5 separate regions of the Homo sapiens genome follow, and all the other regions are linked to region 4. Evidence: promoter capture Hi-C in 16 types of primary human blood cells and fetal thymus (Javierre and others, 2016). All regions are on one chromosome and are shown on one strand. Each heading gives the region's core, a stretch centred on a gene start or on the middle of the fragment in contact. The rest is flanking DNA. Distances are from core to core; before and after follow the strand shown.

Evidence for each region. Contacts are between HindIII fragments. The CHiCAGO score rates a contact against its expected background, and 5 or more counts as called.
Region 1: a contact is called between a fragment that was not itself captured here and the fragment with the promoter of SEC24D in region 4, in 5 of 17 cell types (total CD8 T cells, non-activated CD4 T cells, total B cells and 2 more). The highest score is 6.9, in total CD8 T cells.
Region 2: a fragment that was not itself captured here is called in contact with the fragment with the promoter of SEC24D in region 4 in 1 of 17 cell types (monocytes); the score reaches 6.4 in monocytes.
Region 3: a fragment that was not itself captured here is called in contact with the fragment with the promoter of SEC24D in region 4 in 1 of 17 cell types (monocytes); the score reaches 5.4 in monocytes.
Region 5: a fragment that was not itself captured here is called in contact with the fragment with the promoter of SEC24D in region 4 in 2 of 17 cell types (monocytes and fetal thymus); the score reaches 5.1 in monocytes.

What each region holds. Positions count from the first base shown.
Region 1 is chr4:118,684,691-118,687,390 of GRCh38, reverse strand. METTL14 (methyltransferase 14, N6-adenosine-methyltransferase non-catalytic subunit) reads right to left here and starts at 1,999. Exons shown (of 11, transcript NM_020961.4): 1 at 1,791-1,999. The coding sequence starts at 1,856. It overlaps METTL14-DT (METTL14 divergent transcript), which reads left to right and starts at 2,050. Exons shown (of 7, transcript NR_125930.1): 1 at 2,050-2,086. RefSeq lists enhancers at 1,461-1,600, 1,781-2,040. The HindIII fragment of the contact is 429 bases long and covers 1,119-1,547 here.
Region 2 is chr4:119,021,525-119,024,358 of GRCh38, reverse strand. It overlaps SYNPO2 (synaptopodin 2), which reads right to left. Exons shown (of 5, transcript NM_133477.3): 2 at 778-929. Among named protein-coding and RNA genes, the nearest start is that of SYNPO2-AS1, 38 kb to the right of the region's middle. The HindIII fragment of the contact is 2,902 bases long and covers 9-2,834 here.
Region 3 is chr4:118,970,420-118,973,119 of GRCh38, reverse strand. The region is part of intron 1 of SYNPO2 (synaptopodin 2); the gene reads right to left. All of the region lies in intron 2 of SYNPO2-AS1 (SYNPO2 antisense RNA 1), which reads left to right. Among named protein-coding and RNA genes, the nearest start is that of SYNPO2-AS1, 13 kb to the left of the region's middle. The HindIII fragment of the contact is 3,448 bases long and covers 1-2,700 here.
Region 4 is chr4:118,834,655-118,837,467 of GRCh38, reverse strand. It overlaps SEC24D (SEC24 homolog D, COPII component), which reads left to right and starts at 1,342. Exons shown (of 23, transcript NM_014822.4): 1 at 1,342-1,527. RefSeq lists enhancers at 1,180-1,474, 1,095-1,986 and a silencer at 1,179-1,668. The HindIII fragment of the contact is 6,235 bases long and covers 1-2,813 here.
Region 5 is chr4:118,584,097-118,586,796 of GRCh38, reverse strand. No RefSeq gene overlaps it. Among named protein-coding and RNA genes, the nearest start is that of METTL14-DT, 100 kb to the left of the region's middle. The HindIII fragment of the contact is 1,193 bases long and covers 846-2,038 here.

The DNA of each region.
Region 1 (2,700 bases), core at 84-2,583, 150 kb after region 4:
ATTTAATATAAAATGAGCATTCCAAATCTGAAAATCCAAAATCCAAAACGCTCCAAAATCTGGAACTTTTTGAGTACTGACATGACATTCAAAGGAAATGGTCACTGAAGCATTCCGATTTTGAGTTTTGGTATTTGGCATGCTCAACCAGTAAGTAATATGCAAATATTCCAAATCCTGAAAAAAATCTGAAATCCAAAACACTTCTGGCCCAAGCATTTCAGATAAGAGATATTCAACCTGCAATAGCAATAACTAAAAAAGGCAGATAAGACAGTGTTTGCACAGGGTTGTGGGTACCATGTTAAACATTTTGTAGGCATCAGCTTATATAACTTATTTATTCTATGCTCTAATAAAAATCGATCCAGTTTTACTCAAGCTAAGTCTTACTATTTATAGACACAAGGCTGAACTTTACTACCTTAAAATGGTAACATAAATTTTGTTTGGCAGTTTGGAAAATTTTGCAAAATACAAACAAATGTAAACAAATAATGGTTATAAGGCTGGCTAAGTAGAGTGCAACCAATTCATAAAAGACTTTAAAAGGTAGAGCCCCTGGCATCTGCTGAGTGTAAAACACTAAACAAATAATTGTCCTATGAATGTATATTGAGTCAAATAGAAGTTTGAATTCAATATTAAGGAGTAAAACGTCTTCTGTGGTAGCAACAAAGAGCTACTTAACATTTTTGAAGATAATACGATAAAAGAAGTTGGCGAAAAGAAGACTTAGAAAGGATACTTGATTTGCCCAAGATCGTAATGCCAGCGGGATAAGGAACAAAGGAACAAATCTGACTCCAAGTTTCCACGGTTTTAGCCATATTCCACAAATCTGTTCATCAGACCATAAAGAGGATAGGTTTCAGAAGTCCATTTACTAAAACCAAGTTTCATTACTGAAAAATAACTGCAAGATGACTAATTACACTCTATGAGCATTGCTCCTATCACTTTTACTGATCTGAATAGTAGAATGGAAAATACAGCCTCGATTTTAAGTAGAACTGTGCACAATCTGTATTTTCTGCATGTGCACTCTACTAATCAGCAAATGTTAACTTACTCATACACAAGAAAGAAGTGAAGGACAATGGTTTAGAAGACAAGCTTTGGGGAGACAAACCTAGGTTCTATTTCCCAGCAGAGAAGTGAGCGACCAGGAGTAAAATTCCTTAACGTATGGAGCCTTTTTCATTACTTGATAAGTGAAGGTAATAATACCTGTTTCAGGAGATTATTGTGACTAACACAGAGTAAGATTTCAAATATTAACTGTGGATGTGACAAGGATACTCTATATAAGATGCAGAATCTAAAATTTACACTCAGGCTACTTCCAGTGTTGTCTTCAGAAAGATGTCAAAGAAAATACTGTAAACGTATTTCATAATGAAACCACAATCTCAAGAATTTGGGGCTGACGACGAAGAAAAGAAAGAAATAGATGACCATTTAATAGTGAAGAGAAATGTAGGGGATAACATGACACTCATCCTGGCGTGAACATGCCAGACACTCGGTGGGAGTTCCACAAAGCTTAAAGGCTAATCCTGGCATTCGGTTTAGCACCACAAAGACCGCGGAAGGAACTGGAAAAACATTCGGGACACCGCGAAAATTGAGAACTACAAAGGCAGAACCAGGGATCAAGATCGCAGGACCAGAAAGGCCTTAACAGCGGCAGGTAGAGAAGGGACAGAAAAAGGCGGGGTGTGGAGGGAGGAGGCGGCCGCGCACTCGCATTCTCGATCCCTCCCACAGGGGACACCAGGGCCGCGGACCTGCTGCGCGAGGAGCTGTCGCCGTAACTTCTGCCGCTCCCGGATCTCCTGCAAGCGGCTATCCATGTTCCAACTCCGGCTTTTCACTATCCCGAGTACTTGTCAATCTCCAGTGAACTCTTATCCAACCTTTCTTCCGAGTCTGTGGAACAAAATTCACCGGGAGCTTACGAACAGAGTATCCTCATAGCTTTCCTCAGTAGAGACTTCCGGCGCGGCCGGAATTGGCTCGCTTGGCCCGGAAGTCCCGCCTCCTTCTGGACGCTTGCTATGTGACGCCACTTGGAAGGGACCCAGTAAGGGATCTGTTGCGCCACAGGGGTCTCCAGGGCCCTCGCAGGTTGGGGTGGTCTGAGCTAGTCTGAAGGAGGACAGTCAGCTGACTTCTCCTTTATCTCTCTTTCCCAGGATAGCAGGTTCCCTTGGTGTATTACAGTTTCTGAAGTGTTGATTCCCTTTTCAATTGATTCCACAGATGACAGTCCTGACGTTTAAAAAATTGCCAGATAACCTTTAATTTTTTTTTTTTTAACAGAACACAAACTTAAGCCAGATTGCCTAGGATTGAACCTTGGCCTCTCACTTCCTAGACGAGTGGCCTTGGCTAGTTAACCACCTTCGTGAGCCTCAGTTTTGTCATCTGTAAAATGGGAGTCATAAGTGTCTACCTCACAGAGCTGTGATTGAAAGGATAAATAGCACCTTGCACATAGCGGTGTAGAAGTGCTTGTTATTGTTAATATTTTATTTACCTTCACGCAGGTAACAGCCACAACATCTGCCCACTCTTCCCCACACCTTACTGTCCCTTGAAATGTTTCCCATTTTACTATAGTATGCATTTTTTGGCTTCTTCCCTTTAGGGAAATGAGTATGTGATAGTAAAGCGTGTCTTGGTTTATGTCCTAGG
Region 2 (2,834 bases), core at 210-2,709, 190 kb before region 4:
CCAAAGCTTTCCTTTCTGGATTCATTATCATGCAATAGCCAGAGCTTCCGTTGCAAAATCAGTATGGATTGTACTGTGATTTGTACACCATAAAAATGTCAATGCTGTAGTTTTCCTTGTTATTGTCCTCATTGTTTTCTTTTGTTTTTTACATTTAAAGGTTTCTTTTATATTGTTAAACAACTATGTGGGGATGGTGGTATTTGAAGAGATTGAATTCCCAAATGACCTGTGTTGGTCGTGCAAAAACCTTATTCTAATCATCTGCTTTTGTCCATCCTCAAATATTGGTTTTACTGGAGAAATCCGGCTGCTTGTAAGTTTTTGTTGTTGTTTCTCTTTTCTGTCTCTTAAGCATCCTTTTAATGAAAAATTGTACAGTTTAATGGTCTAATATTTAAACATTTTTAATTCATCTGTGCATCTGATAATTACAATTGAGTGATTCTGATCCATCACAAAATCTTGACCTATCAAAGAAATATTAAGTTATGCTCAATATACTGAGCTTTCTAAGGAAGGAGCCTAAAATACCTAAGATTTTCAACAAAGTGCTTGAAACAAGCATTTTCAACTTAATTCTCAATTAACCAGAAAGTTTGGTTGACTAGAATTGACTATTTTTCAAACACAGTGGTGTTTCTGTTTAACTATACCTAACCTTCTACAAAGCACCCCTAATTTCTCCATAAATGACAAGTTATATATGTAGTAAAAGCTATAATCATTCCCATGTAGCTTCAAGAGAAAATACATATTCCAGCAAATCTGTTGTACCTTTTGATGAGCATTTGGAGAGAGTCTGTTATGCTTTCCATGAGCTTGATGACTTCAGGGTAGGTGAGATCTGCACAAGGGTTGCCATTGATGGAAACCACTTCATCTCCCTCACAGAGCCCAGACCCAGAGGCTTTGCTCTGATTTCGAATCTGAGTGGAGTAAAAAAAGAAGACATAGTAGAATGATATAATTTGTAAAAAGCAAGCCACCATCTCTGAGAAACAAATCTGTCAACAGTAACACCAGCCCTGAATTTTAATTCACCTGTTAACCTGTAAGACCATTTAAATACTTCTTACCACCTTATGAACACACACACAGCCACACACTTTATCATGTACCATAATATGAACATTTAATTCATAGCATTGTAAGTAAACAGGAAAAAAGAAAGTAAATAAATCAATGTAAAGGTACCAGACAGAATTAAAGAAATAAAAAATAGAGAAGAGTGAAAAAAGATGTTAAAGGCTTACATTGATGGCATTAAAAATAATTATTCAGGCCAGGCGTGGTGGCTTATGCCTGTAATCCCAGCACTTTGGGAGGCCAAGGCGGGTGGATCACGAGGTCAGGAGTTCGAGACCAGCCTGGCCAACATGGTGAAACCCCGTCTCTACTAACAAGTACAAAAATTAGCTGGGCATGGTGGTGTGCGCCTGTAGTCCAAGCTACTCAGGAGGCTGAGGCAGGAGAATTGCATGAGCCCGGGAGGTGGAGGTTGCAGTGAGCCAATATCGCACCATTGTACTCCAGCCTGGGCAACAGAGCAAGACTCTGTCTCAAAAATAAAATAAAATAAAATAAAATAAAATATAAAATAAAATAAAATAAAACATAAAATAAAATAAAATTAAAATAAAATAAAATATAAAATAAAATAAAATACAATTAAAATAAAATAAAATAAAATAAATAATTCAGGCCAGGCACAGTGGCTGATGCCTATAATCCCAGCACTTCGGGAAGCTGAGGCAGGTGGATCTCTTGAGCTCAGCAGTTTGAGACCAGCCCGGTCAATATGGTAAGACCCTGTCTCTAAAAAAAAAAAAAAAAAAAAAAAAAACCTACAAAAAATGCAAAAATTAGCCCGCTTGGTGGTGCATGCCTGTGATCCTAGCCACACAGGAGAAGTGGGAGGATTGTTTGAGCCAGGAGGTGGAGGTTGCAGTGAGCCAAGATCATGCCACTGCACTCCAGCCTGGGGGACAGAGCAAGACCCCGTCTTAAAACATTATTATTATGATGATGATAATTCCACATTGTAAGGTTTTACTCCAGTGAGAAAGTAACCTCCTGCATTACAATAAATTTTAAAATCCTTCCCATTGCCAAGGTGAATGAAACGCCATGACTATAAGAAGGAGGTACAGGACGGGGCAACTTGTTTGAGGAGAGAGCTGTATAGCTAAATGGACTGATAAAAACCATCCCAGTATAGTGGGGCACCAGGGAGCCTGGATATTAGGGAATATGTCAAAGAGAGAAATGCTTCATTGAAATCAGCTACTCCAGGCATGGTACTAAGCAAACTTTAGCAAAAAAGAAAGAAAAAAGAGATTACTTTGCAGAAAGTAAAAGCAGCCCTGCCATAAGCACTGTGTCATAATCTACTGGAATATTCTTACTCCAGTAAGAGATCAAAGACCAAGGGAAATGAGAGGTCAGGTCTATGCTCTCCTTGGTGGACCTGCTGGGCCATGGCTTAGCAGTGGCTCTGTTCTTCAGTCTAGAGAGTTGCAGCTCCTGTCAGCCTGCCCCTCTATCATTGCCTTAACTCGTTAGGTTCCAACAACACACATTATCTCCTTGTACCTTTGGGCCTATGAGTGATAATAGTTTCCTGCTCTCAATCTCTGGATTTCTGGGTGCTTCATTATCATTTGTTGGTTCCCTTAAGACTACCTTTAGTCTCTGCATTGCATTATATTGAATTCTTCTTTGAGCATGCCACCTATTTCCTGCTGGAGCCCTAAGTGATACTAATGTGCTTAGATTTCATTTTATGAGTTCAATTGTTCTCAATGAACCATGTATGATGACCATACAGTCTC
Region 3 (2,700 bases), core at 10-2,509, 140 kb before region 4:
TACAGATGCTCCTCAACTTACAATGGGACTATGTCCCACAAAACCCATCATAAATCAAAAAATACCATAAGTCAAAAATGCATTTAATGCATGTATAAGCCCATTGTAAAGTTGAAACATCATAAGTTGAGTTATAATAAGTGGGGACCATTGGTGTGAAAAAGTGGTGTGAATGGGGAGAAAAAGCAGGTGAGCAAGCGGGGATAGCCAGCTTACAAAATATGTATTTCTGATCCTGTAATATCTAATTTGTTTCCAATTTTCAAATGAAAGACACTGAAATTATTAAGCACTCACTATGTGATGAAAAGTAAACTGAACTTTGAGGAGATTTTTGTAGCTTGCCCAAGGTCACAGAACTAGATTTAAACTTAGAGATGTATAACTTAAAATTGTAGGCAGTGGGCAAAACAGTTTCACCCTTGCTGACTCTGTAAACCTGACAACAATCCTAAGAGGACAATGCTAGAAGTGATGGAGAAAAAACAAAGCTAGCACCTAAGAGACAAATTTGCTCGTTTCCCTTCTGAGTTAGTTTAGACAAACTGCCCTTACAGTTTGAAGGGCTTGGAGGAAAAGAAAAAAATACATAAAAAGTGTTTTATTTTCCTATTTGGGGAAATGTAAGGGAATCAGATTCTGCTTGAAATCTCAGAATTCCCTTTTCTTTTTTTTTGAGACAGGGTCTCCCTTTGTCAGCCAGGCTGGAATGCAGTGGCATAATCACAGTTCACTGCAGCTTCCACCTCCTGGACTGAAGCCATCCTTCCACCTCAGCTTCCTAAGTAGCTGGGACTACAGGCACGCACCACTACACCCGGCTATTTTTTCTTTCTTTTTTTGTAGAGACAGGGTCTCCCCATGCTGCCCAGGTTGGTCTCAAACTCCTGGGCTCAAGTGATCCTCCCACCTCTGTCTCCCAAAGTGTACAGGCATGCATGAGCCTCTGCACTCGGCCTCAGAATTGTTTTTATAAGTATAGTTAAATATTATTCTGTCTCCTCTCTTTCTTTTATGTTCTGAGGAAGTTCTCGTCAGAAGTTAGGATAACTCCTACATAGAATTTCTGTGGAGATTAAATAGAGTTCTACATGTAAGCCTACGAAGCTGTTCAAGACCACTGTAGAGTACTATGACGCTCACTGGGACCACACTATGAGGTCTATCCCTGTAGAATTATGTGATGTTGAAGAAACCATTATTTTCCTTCTTACACTTTCTCAAAAGAGGGAATGTCCACCCCTCTCATGGATGGGAGAACATAACACTTCTGGATCTCTCCTGTCACTTCTCGGCATGGGAAGAGTAGCTAATTTGATTAAAGAGAGACTGAGTCATTGAGCCATTATTTTTCAGAGACCATGGTTACTGCATTGAAAAGGAAAAGCTGGCCAGGTCTTTCTCTTACTGCCTCAGACCACTGTGTTCACAGATGATGCGCTCACTTGTGCTTCAGGACCCAGAAAGTAGGCAAACCCTGCCCTAGCAGGCCCAGCTAGCTTTTGTTCTCCAGGCCAGCTTTGCTGTCTATGAATGAATAAGTCAGGTTGCCCTTTCACTGGAGACCCATTGGCTTTAATGTAATAAACATTAATTCCTAAAAGATATGGAAGCGCCATTCTAGCCTCAGGTCTAAGTCACATTGTCCAGTGCATCTTCATTGTGAGTAAAACTGATCATTTCAAGTTAAAGCCTAAAAGGATGGTGGGATGTAGGAGAGCTACTCTAAGCCTTCAACATTTGGGACCTTTGAGATAGTTGCCCAGTCCTCTGCTGTCTTGAAAACACTGGCATAACATAACCATCCATGGATTCTGGCTCCTTGTTCTTAAGAGTCATGGGTTCGCTTTGTTTTCAGTTTAAAAGACACATAATAATTATCTGCTTATTGTTTAGAGTAATTTACTAAACATTAGCCAAAACAGCTAACTTAAGACACTGAGCAAATCTCAGAAATCAAATATAACATATATTCATCTTCATGTCAAAGAATAACATATTGCATTTTAACACGGAGGGAGAGAAGGAGCGAAGGTGCTCACGGGACCTTTCACTAGCACCAGAATGTGCTCAGTCCCAAAGTGACCCCAGCTTTTTGCCACCCCAGAGAGTGTTGGTCTAACAACAAGCCTGTCTAAGGAGACAAAGTATCATTGGGGGTCAAAACAAATGAAAAGATTCTGTGTCCTCTGGAACTCATGTTGACATTTCTCTGAGAAAAACTAAAGTGATCTTTTTGATTGATTACTTTATTCATTCATTTATTGACAAGGAGTTATAAAGCACCCACCGTGTTCTAGTCCTCTTCTAAGGACTTCTTCTCTGCATGTGCAAATGCTTCTGAGATGAAGGGAACCTTTAGAAAGCCTATGTGGTCATAGGCCAAATCCACCCACCTTGGTTCTAGAGTGTTTGTAGCTTTCTCTATTTTGGCAGTAATTGGATATAGCAAGACCAGTTTTCTACTACAGTCCCTTTATAATAATGAAATGAGGTTATCTGCTATGGGAAGTATATTTATCTTTCTATCATATACAGACAAATTTGTAAATAATATGTGGGGTGGTTAAGGTAAAAGCATTCATGCATCTTATCCAAGGGAGGTATCAAGTTATTACAGGGTATATAGTAAAAAAATTGGAGGGATACAAACTTATTGTTTTATTTAGTGAATATTAAAGAGTACTAAGGGACAGAGTT
Region 4 (2,813 bases), core at 93-2,592:
AATGTGGGTTTTCAAACCTGATCAGTGTTGAAGCTGGATGTAGGCCAGATATCTTACCTTAAAATCTTTTTTTCTTTTTCTTGAGACAGGGTCTCACTCTGTTGCCCACGCTGGAACGCAGTGGTGTGATCATAGCTCACTGCCTCCTGGCCTCAAGCAATCCTCCCTGCTTGGCCTCCCAAAGTGCTGGGATAACAGGTGTGAGCCACTGTGCCTTGCCCCATGCCTTAAAAACTTTTAAGAGTGGGATAAATGGACCATATATCTTTACTGCTAAAATGACTTAAAATTCCTGCACAATTCATGTAGCATTTCGGGAGTAGCAACATCCCCATGTACGTTTTTACCTAGGCAGTTCATCAGTAAAGGTATTTGTCAAGTGGCTTTCTTGTAGCCGGGAAGAAAGTGCATGTTAAAAACAACAACACCGGGCTGGTTTTTACTTTGTAAGTTTGAGCAAAGTGGTAGCTATACCAAACCTGGGAGTGGCTGAATGTCTTTCTATTTAGCAGTGAAAGATGATAGGAAACCAGCCAGATGGTCCTGATTTTAGGGTGAGATAGAGAGGTAAGCTCCAGATCTCATATAGGTTGCCTTTATTTCTGAGCTGTTTCTCACAGGACGGTGAGCTAAACGCTGGGTGCTTTTCCATGCAGAGATTCCTGTTTGGGGCTGGGATCAGCCATCCTACTTCACAAACAAGGAATATGCGGAAGAAGGAGTATACACAACGCTAACAACCCCAATATCAATGGAAACCCCACTTCCCACACTTTTCCTTTGGGACATCTCCCCCACCCCCCACTCCTCCCGCGTTACACGTTGCCAGGCTGCTTTGGGCGTTCCTTCCTCTGTAGTGCATTGCACGGGTACGTCATCAAATGTGCGTGTACACGTGCCAGATTCGCCTTTAAACGGTAATCTCCCCTAGGTCCAGATCGTGTACTTTCCCGTATGTAACGGTAGTGCAGTACCTGAACTATTAGTTATTTAAGTAATACGTAATGAATGAAGAGCTGAAACTGCAACCTGTTGATGGAAGAATGAATGAACGCGCTCCCCTCCTTCCTGCGGGGCTGCGCCGAGAAAATACGGTTCTGATTTAGCCACGACGTTAAAGGCTTTGACCTGTAGGGGGAGGGGAAAGAAAAGACGGGAAAAAGAAAACCAAAAAACAAAAAACCGGAAAAAGGGAAAAAGCGAAAAGGGGGAGGTCGCTCGGCCGCTCGCAGGCTCAGCCCGGTGGCCCCGCCCCGCGGCGGCCGGTGGCTGTGCGCGTGCGCAGGCGGGAGCGCGGCGGCTGGTCCAAGCCCGGCGCTGGGGGCGCGCAGCCGAGAAAGGGTTTGACGTGGCAGTTCCCAGCCCAGCTGCAACTCCGAGCGTGAGTCCAGGCTAAGGGGACGCCGGCCGGGGAAGAGGCGCGGCGGGAGAAGCGACCGCAGCGGGAGCCCGGCCACCGAGGGCTGCCGGCACTAGGCGCAGAGCCGCCAGCGCTCGGAAGCCCGCGGGGTGCGGGAGCGGGAACAGGTAAAGCCTCCCACCCGCGGACGCCTTCATGCGGGACAGCCCTGCCCAGGCACAGCGGAGCGGGTTGCGGCGCCCGGCCCGGGGACGCGGCGGGAGGCCGGGTGCTCACCTGAGGCAGTGGCGGCGGGAGGAGAACTCATTCTTTGTTCTTTAGCCTTCTAGTGCAGTTTAATAGTGGGGCCGGCGGGATGGGGGAGCAGGAGGTGGGCGTGGGCATTTTTTACCCGCCCCCACCTTTTGCCTTGGGATGCAGGAACTGCCTTGTTAGGATCCTCAGTGGCCACCATTCGAGTGTCATTGCCAGCGGTTTTCTCATCTCCTTATCAACTTAATTTCCTTTTTTGAAGGAAGGAAATGTTAGAAATATTCATGGTAAAAATGGCAACTATATCTTGAAGCCTCGGGACATCCGAATAGTGAAACTGATCTGGCCAAATACGAACTTGTTCCAGGGTTAGAAGTGCACCTTGGCTAGAGTTGCTGGGTGACAGTGAGCCAGGGGGCCGTTCTGGGGTTGGGGCTCCCCAGATTTTGATCCTAGGCCTGCTTATACCAAGTGGCTTTCTGCCGTGTCGCCGCTTGAAGCTGAGTCAGGTTTCTTTAACTTGGTGCTCTGTGTGAGGAAGTTTGACGTGGCAAACTGGGTTGCGTGAGGAAGCTGATTCCTCTGAGGACCAGTTCAGAGGGAACTGGCTGCTTCCTGTTCTTTGGAGTGACCATCTCAGCCTCTCTTTTCTGTCACTCAGCAACAGGCTGCTACTTAGGTGTGTTCGTGCCGACTTCCTAAGTGCTCTTGGTTGGATGAGCTTGACCAGCGCTCAGGCTGCCACGTCTCTCTCTGCTAAGTGGGAGGAGGAAAAAGGGGTTGTCAGAAACAAAGTGGACCAGAAGGCCTTTGCCTGCCTCTCTCCTCTTTTTCAGTTCTCCCCTTCCCAGGAGAAGGAAATGATCTCATAATATTTTTACATGGTTGCTTTTATTTTGGAAACTTATAGTTTAATATGGAAACAAAATCAAATCACAAATTTTAGGCTTCAAATTTTTAATTTGAAATGTTATTTCTTGAATATAGACAGATTCTAAGTCTTAGCAGGTATCACTGATCTCTTATCTTAAATTGTAGCAAATAAAAGAACAAAAGGAAGAATATGCTTGTATGGGGCAAATAAACTGGAGATAAATTGTAGAATCAGTGGAAATCTGGAAAGGCTTCATTTTCTAAAAGAAGGAACTGAGGCTTAGAGAGGTTCTTCAGCTCATTCCATGTCACACAGTTAAGTATGGCA
Region 5 (2,700 bases), core at 193-2,692, 250 kb after region 4:
TATTTTACTTTTCCCTCTTGGGTTTCTGCCATTTCCAGGAGAAGAACATGCCCTAGCTGGCCTGCTAGTTCAAGGGCAATGCAAGACACGTGGAGCAGAGATGGACCCAACCTGTGGCTGACAGCTAACCTCAGCTGAACCAAGTGTAGATCAACCCACGCCAGCTGGCTCACAGCTCCTGAGCAAAAGCAAGACAGCTGTTTTAAGCCACTGAATTTTGGGCTGGGTTGTAAAGCAGAGCTAACTGATTATTGATTGAGCCTCTGCGATATTCTAGCCATGGGTTAGAGGCGGGGCATACAGAGATATGCAAAACATAAGTCCTTGCCTCCAGGAAGGGCCGGTCTCACCAGGACATTGTGTCACTTCACAAAAAGGTACTTCTGACTGGGAGGAGGGTGCAGAGGGCCAGGCTTCCAGACTCGTTTCCAGCATCACTTTATTTCACAAGTTCAGTGTCGGTAACGTAAACGATGACTGCCGTGGTGCCGATAGAGAAATCTAATGAAGAGGTTATGGGAATTCTTTTTAAATTTGAGCTTTTGTCCAAACTCCAGCAGCTGCTTTTTCAAATTTTTTTTTTTCATTTTCCAAAACAAAGTCACTGAAAGATCCCTATAAACCTGTGGTTCTCAAAAGGCTGCAGAAGAATCCCAATGGGAAGTGAGTGGCTTTATTTTCTTGGAAATTCAGAATCCTCAGGGATTCTGATTCAGTCTGTCTGGGTTGCGACACTAGAATCTGCATTTTTTTCATGCTTCACTATTCTCCCTTTACCCAGCAAAATTGTGACGCTGTAAATCTAGAGGCCACTATTTGAGAAATCCTGCTCCAAATGGCAAGCTTCCTGGGGATAGTTACCATGGAAATTGACACGAATTTACGGAGACCTCATCCTGGATTTATTGGCAGAGCTCTTTGGCTTGTTCCTTGACTTCTGCAACCTTGTTTCCTGATCCCTGCGTCTTGACTTGATCTGCCTGGACTCTAGATATTTCTCTGAACTTAGTAGGTGCCTATTATGGTTTGGCTATTTGCCCTCCCAAACCTCGTGTTGAAATTTGATCCCAGTGCTGGAGGCGGGGCCTAACAGGTGTTTGGGTCACGAAGGCGGATCCATCATGAATAGATTAATGCCCAGGGTGCGGCATTAGTTTCCAGGAGAACTGGTTATTAAAAAAGAGCCCAGGCCAGGCGCGGTGGCTCATGCCTGTAATCCCAGCACTTTGGGAGGCCAAGGCAGGTGAATCACGAGGTCAGGAGATCAAGACTATCTTGGCTAACACGGTGAAACCCTGTCTCTAATAAAAATACAAAAATCAGCCAGGCGTGATGGCGTACGCCTGTAGTCCCAGCTACTTGGGAGGCTGAGGCAGGAGAATTGCTTGAACCTGGGAAGTGGAGGTTGCAGTGAGCCAAGATCGCGCCATTGCACTCCAGCTGGGCAATAGAGTGAGACTGTTTCAAGATTAAAAGAAAAAAAAAAAAGAGCCTGGCACCTTCCTGCTCTCTCTTGCTTCCTGTCTTGCCATGTGATCTCTGCACACACGTGCTCCCCTTTGCCTTCCACTATGAGTGGAATCAGCCTGAGGTTTTCCCCAGAAGCCCAGTCTTCCAGCCACCAGAATTGTGAGCCAGATAAACCTCTTTTTAAATAAATTACCCAGCCTCAAGTATTCCTTTATCGCCACACAAATGGACTAAGACAATGCCCAATCAGTGTTTTTTAAATGAATTAATGAGCTTGCCACCACCTGGATCCAGACGCCTCCCTGTCTGTCCTTGAGCACTGACTGCTACAGATCTGAGCACCGGCCTGATGCTGTGAGCTGGCTGCCCTGATCTGTCCCGAAGTTCTGAACCGTCCTCATTCCTTCCTCCTCCACCACACATCCACCCTGCTTGTCTTTCTCTGTTTCCCCAATACTCAGGGCTGACTTTCTTAGCTTCATGTTCATTGGGATCTACAGCCAGTGGGACATCAGCTGCCAGACCAGCATCTCTGCTATTATTGAGACTGGTCTGAACTCTCAAAGCTTCAACACATCTTAACAGATCTTAAGGAGGAAGCGAGGTGGAAGGTTTCTATCTGTAAATAAGAACTGGCCACCTGTGAATACACTGAGGCAAAACAGAATGAAATGCCATCCCAGAAATGTCACAGTCGGGTTGCAGCAGCCATATTTACAAAGCAGATTGAATCATTTAGAATTATTGAAGTCTAGTCCAGAATATGGTGCTGCTGGCTATTTAATAGGGATCGATAAATAATTTCAGCACATAGTGAAATTGAAACTGTGCGTTGCCATCTGGAACTTGGTGTTCACATGCTGATTAGAAACCAACTCACTGATGTAATTCTATTTCTCACAATATCCCTGAGCACAAAGGAATTTTTTCAGAAAAGACACACAGGAGAATGAGGTCAAGTCTTGTCTGCATGTTTAGGAGCTGCTCTCAGATAGAGAACAGGAATTTGTTTTGTTTTGTTTTTCTAAATGGAAATCTCTGTTTAGTGACCCCCTCCAACCTTGGGATTCTGCCTTTTTTAGGTGCTGCTTAACATTAATTATCACTTAAACTCATTGTAATTTGGAGACAAATAAAAGGAGGTTATGGAGTGACATCTTTTAGCCAGTAAACACATGGCCAAAGGGCTGCATGTAAATTCATTTGTGGTAGGTCAAGTGACAGGTTTGT